Linked DNA regions of Homo sapiens: region 1 is linked to region 2. The links are contacts of gene promoters, found by promoter capture Hi-C in human tissues and cell types (Jung and others, 2019). All regions are on one chromosome and are shown on one strand. The core of a region is centred on a gene start or on the middle of the fragment in contact, and the rest is flanking DNA. Distances in the headings are between cores, read along the strand shown. Region 1 holds the start of TMEM204 (transmembrane protein 204). Region 2 holds the start of RAB11FIP3 (RAB11 family interacting protein 3).

Region 1 (2,700 bases), core at 177-2,676, 1.1 Mb after region 2:
AAACAGCAGCTTTTCCCTGGGCACAAGCCAAGGAAGAGGGGAAAGGAGAAACCTGACGGACACGTCTGCGACAAATCCCCGGGGAAAATCCCCCCCAGGCACGTCCCTCAGGAAGCCAGTGGAGAAACGCTTCTCAGGACCCAGCACGCACCACGGGCTGGTGAGGACGGAGCTGCTGCCTTTCTGGAACAGACACAGGGCGTGTGTGGGGAACCTTGCTTCACCTGTGGATATACAGAGCCACATGCCAACGTGTGAATGGAGACTGGTCCCAGGAAGTGGCAGCTCTCGGGACCGCCCTGAGCCAGGGCCCAAGCACGGGCAGTGCAAGGACAGGAAACGGTCAAAGCTCTGCTGTTACCACAGGCTGGGAACAGGACTCTCTGTCCCAGCACTGTCTTGGGCGTGTGCCCATGAACAGTTTGCACGGATGTGGGACACCTGCATTCACGAAGCTTTGGAGCCTGGGTAGGCTGGGAATCCCATGCTGGGTTTCGGGTCTCTGGAGATGGGACAGAGTAGGAGACCCTCTCGTGGTGTCTGCCCAGCTGGGCAGAATAATTCTGAGCAGAATAGACGAAGATGCTTCTGAGCTCCCTGGCAGCATAAGCTCTGCCCGAGAGCCTGACCACTCACAAGGTGACCTGCCTAGTCCTGTCCCCAGCTGTGGGGGGTGACCGTTCCCATCAATAGCAGAGGTGGCCCAGGCCCCACGTGACATTCGCTCTGTCCCAGGCCCCGCTGAGAGCCCCACCCAGCACATCCAGAATCTTACCCTTCTTGCCACCTAAGAATGACCTGGCCTCGAGGTCCTCCAAGTACAGGTCCCTGGCCCCGAGGTCCTCCAAGTACAGGTCCCTGGCCCCAAGGCCCTCCAAGTACAGGTCCCTGGCCCCGAGGTCCTCCAAGTACAGGTCCCTGGCCCTGCAGGTCTGGGTGAACTTGCTCCCTCCAGGCACACGGGTCTCTCCCCTTCCCAGCAATCCTGTGATATCTGCCCCCCTTTTGAGGGCAGCATTCCCGTGGCGGGGGCAGGCCTGGAACACACGGGCGGGGGGAGGCTTGTGGTTCCTATGGTCCTGGGGGTACCTATGGTCCTGGGGGCAACTGGATGGCTGGGGGGTGTGAAGTCCCCAGGGCAGGCAATAGTCGCTCAGTACCAGCCTCCAGGCCCCGGGGGCCACCAGGCTTAAAAGCAACAGGCGAGACGAGGGATCTGTCCCGCACCCGGCATCCCTGGCCTCTCCTCTGGGACAGGAAGATGGGGAGGGGCGGCAGGAGGTGGGCCTGGAGCAGGGCCTCAGAAGTCTCCTGGCCTTTCCCATCAGGAAGCACATCCTGTTGGTGTCTGGCTGCCGCGGCAGGGCCGCTATTTGTTGCGGTTGGCTACGCCTTCCAGCTCACCAAAAACAGTCTCAAAAACAACCATTTCCTCTCTGCTGAGAGCCAGGGAAGGCGAGCTCTGCGCACACGGGCGTCCCTGCAGCAGCCACTCTGCTTTCCAGGACCGGCCAACTGCCCTGGAGGCATCCACACAGGGGCCCAGGCAGCACAGAGGAGCTGTGAACCCGCTCCACACCGGCCACCCTGCCCGGAGCCTGGCACTCACAGCAGGCCGGTGCTAAGGAGTGTGGCGCGGGCTCGACTCCCACTGCTGCCGGCCTCCCGAGTGACTCTGTTTTCCACTGCTGCAGGCGAGAAGAGGCACGCGCGGCACAGGCCGGCCTCCGCTTCCCGGGAAGACGGCGCACTCCTGGCCCTGGGTTCTTGCTGCTGCCCACCCTCTGCTCCCTGGGATGGGCCCCGAGGCGAGCAGCTTCAGCACAGGCCTGGCCCTGCTCCAGGTGCAGGAAGGAGGATAAGGCCGGGCCGAGAGGCGGCACACCTGGACCATCCCATGGGCCTCCGCCCGCGCCGCCCCGAGGATGAGTGGTGATGTCCTCTAGCCACCCCTAGCAGCGTCGGCTCTCCCTGGACGTGCGGCCGCGGACTGGGACTTGGCTTTCTCCGGATAAGCGGCGGCACCGGCGTCAGCGATGACCGTGCAGAGACTCGTGGCCGCGGCCGTGCTGGTGGCCCTGGTCTCACTCATCCTCAACAACGTGGCGGCCTTCACCTCCAACTGGGTGTGCCAGACGCTGGAGGATGGGCGCAGGCGCAGCGTGGGGCTGTGGAGGTCCTGCTGGCTGGTGGACAGGACCCGGGGAGGGCCGAGCCCTGGGGCCAGAGCCGGCCAGGTGGACGCACATGACTGTGAGGCGCTGGGCTGGGGCTCCGAGGCAGCCGGCTTCCAGGAGTCCCGAGGCACCGTCAAACGTAAGTCCAATTGTTTTCCTGATGCCTTCAGCGTGGCCGAGGCTCGAGGGCACATGGGAGATGTTAGGCGCGGACCTGGTGAGCGGGTGGGGAGGCCTGGCCCCTGCTCTGCCCTGAGCGTGGCCTCTGGGCAGGCAGGAGGGGGCACTGTGTCTCCCAGGGAACCAGGCCCCAAGGCCCCCTCTCCCTGGTGAGTGGTGGCCCCACACACTCCTCCTGCTCAGCACAGAATCTGCCTCCAGCTCTTTTACACAGGAATTCATCTCAGGCATTTGGGGGGCCTCTCTGCCGTTACACATAGTTAAGAGATGGGTACATTAATCAAATCAAGGAAAGGCATTTTTCCTTGGTTGAAAATAATTATTACGGCTGGGCGCAGTGGTT
Region 2 (2,700 bases), core at 201-2,700:
TCGCCCACACTAACACCCCTATTTAGAAAGGTTGACACATCACTATCACTGCTTCTGAAAATTTTATCCGGCCGAAGGCATCAGCCCAAATTTGAATTCTTGCCAAAGCTGCTGGTGATTTCGTTCTTTGAATGCAGTATCTTCCTCATGAACACGTACAGCTCTTACAAGAAAATGAGAATACGGTTTGGGGAGGAGGATCCCTCACATTCCTTTTCCTAATGCCAGCCTCGCGAAGTCTGGTCCCATGTACCCTGGGATTCTGCCACGGAAGATGACTCACTTAATTAACACGCTGCTCCTGACCGTACACTTGGAAGCAGAGGTTCCGTTCCTTTGGTTCTTGCCAAAGCTGCTTACGAAACCATATCTTGTGTTGGTGCCCATGGTGTGTAAAAATACAAGTTCATCATTTCCCTGATACAAATTATGACAGGCTAAATTTAGTGCCTCACCTGTCCTAACTAGCTTTCCCACCATCATGCCTGCCGCCGGGCTGTGGTCCTTTCTGAGGTCCCGTGTCCCTCTGAGGACAGGGACACCCAGACACAGAGGTCAGTTGTCAGACGCGGCCACGGTGCTCGGGAGGCTGGCTGCAGACGGGCGATTCACCCTGGGTGTCTTCTTGAGTCTTATTTTTTGTAGAGACGAGGTCTCGCTTTGGTGCTCAGGCTGGTCTCAATCTCCTGGGCGCAAGCGATCCTCCCGCTTGGGCGTGGGCCAGCGCGCCCGTCCCAACGCTGGGAGTCCCGGAGATCTTGGTCACAGGCTTAAGGGAAAGGCCTAGCGCGTGGCCGCGCGTGCCTCTGGTTTCAAGGGACATGGACTGCGTGTCTGGGGCCCCTCCGCACTCCGTGTCAGACCCTGCGTCCCCCGGGTCCGCGCGGGACCCGGGCAGGGCGTCGCCCTCTGCGGCGTCTGCGCCCCGCGAACCCTGGGGCACCTGCAACCCCTGGGCCGCGGAGCCAGGCGTGCGCCGCCTCCTGGTCTCATCAACGTGAGAACGCTTTACCCCCGAAGAGCTCAGCTCCTAGGGGGCTATGTCCCTTTGCGTCTCTCGCTCGCCAGGCGGTGCCGTTTACTCGACCGCACCATGCGTGGGTAGCGGTCGCGCCCGCTGGTAGCTGTGCGGCGGGAACACGTTCTAAGTAAGGCCTGACTCCGCGCGCCTCTTGCCAGGGACGTCACGTCACGCCTCCACTCGCAGCCTCGGAGCACCCCCGCGTCCCGCGCCCGAAGCTCGGGACCCCCGCTCTGGCGAAACGAGGAATATGACATACAGCAAAACACCCCTTCGCGGCCGCTGCACTGCCGCGACACACCCGGCGCCTGCCTCTACAGCAAGCCGGCGAGGGGCTGGGACCCCGCCGGGACGTGCTGACGTCAGGCCCGACGGGGGGCGGGGCCTGGGCGGCGGCGGCGTTAGTTCTCCGGGTACCTCAGGCGCCTCAGCCTCCTTAGTCTCCTCATCCTGCTTCACAGGCTCCGCGGCCTCCGGCCTCCTCGGCCCCCGTCCCCCGGCCTCCTCGGCCCCCGTCCCCCGCCATCCGCCGCCCGGATCCTCGCCGCCCTCCCTAGGCCGCCCCGCCGCCATGGGCCTGCGCCCGCCGCGCCGCCGGGCCGAGGGCAGCTGAGGCGCGGTGCGAAGATGGGCGAGGACAGAGCAGGGCCCGAGCGCCAGCCCCAGCAGCCCGGGCGCCCCGCGCGCGCCCGCCCGCGCCGCCGAGGGGATGCCCGCGCCCGCCGCCGCGCCCTGAGCGCCTTTGTCTGCCGCCCGCGCCCTTCCGCACCACTAGCCTCTCGGGAGCATGGCGTCGGCCCCGCCGGCCTCGCCCCCGGGCTCGGAGCCGCCGGGGCCCGACCCGGAGCCGGGCGGGCCGGACGGGCCGGGGGCGGCACAACTGGCTCCGGGCCCTGCGGAGCTACGCCTCGGAGCGCCCGTCGGCGGCCCCGACCCGCAGTCCCCGGGCCTGGATGAGCCTGCGCCCGGGGCCGCTGCAGATGGCGGGGCGCGTTGGAGCGCCGGGCCGGCCCCGGGGCTGGAGGGAGGCCCGCGAGACCCCGGGCCGTCCGCCCCGCCGCCGCGCTCCGGCCCGCGGGGGCAGCTTGCGAGCCCCGACGCCCCGGGCCCAGGGCCGCGCTCCGAAGCGCCGCTTCCAGAACTCGACCCGTTGTTCTCCTGGACTGAGGAGCCCGAGGAGTGTGGCCCCGCGAGCTGCCCGGAGAGCGCGCCTTTCCGCTTGCAGGGGTCCAGCAGCAGCCACCGAGCGCGGGGCGAGGTCGACGTCTTCTCTCCCTTCCCCGCGCCCACGGCGGGCGAGCTGGCGCTGGAGCAAGGTCCCGGGTCCCCGCCGCAGCCCTCGGACCTCAGCCAGACCCACCCCCTTCCGAGCGAGCCCGTGGGGAGTCAGGAGGACGGCCCCCGCCTCCGAGCCGTGTTCGATGCCCTGGACGGGGATGGGGACGGTTTCGTCCGCATCGAGGACTTCATCCAGTTTGCTACGGTCTACGGGGCAGAGCAGGTACGGAGCGGCCCGGGCCGGGGCGTGGGAACTGGGCAGGTGCGCGCTGGCCGGCGGGGTTGATGTGGGACCGGTCGACGCTGCCCCTGGAGTCGGGAAAGGCACTGTCAAGACCTGACGGTCCTGCTTTTTCTGCTTATTCACCACTTCGGCCCTGGATTTCTGGTTGAATTGCGCT

The links. Contacts are between HindIII fragments. The study calls those that stand out against the background at their distance.
Region 1: a contact is called between the fragment with the promoter of TMEM204 here and the fragment with the promoter of RAB11FIP3 in region 2, in 1 of the 25 tissues and cell types used here (heart left ventricle).

The regions. Positions count from the first base shown.
Region 1 is chr16:1,532,240-1,534,939 of GRCh38, forward strand. It overlaps TMEM204 (transmembrane protein 204), which reads left to right and starts at 1,427. Exons shown (of 3, transcript NM_024600.6): 1 at 1,427-2,316. The coding sequence starts at 2,037. The region is part of intron 19 of IFT140 (intraflagellar transport 140); the gene reads right to left. RefSeq lists enhancers at 753-1,456, 1,457-2,160. The HindIII fragment of the contact is 11,677 bases long and covers 1-2,038 here.
Region 2 is chr16:424,199-426,898 of GRCh38, forward strand. RAB11FIP3 (RAB11 family interacting protein 3) reads left to right here and starts at 1,451. Exons shown (of 14, transcript NM_014700.4): 1 at 1,451-2,522. The coding sequence starts at 1,809. The HindIII fragment of the contact is 17,968 bases long and covers 1-2,700 here.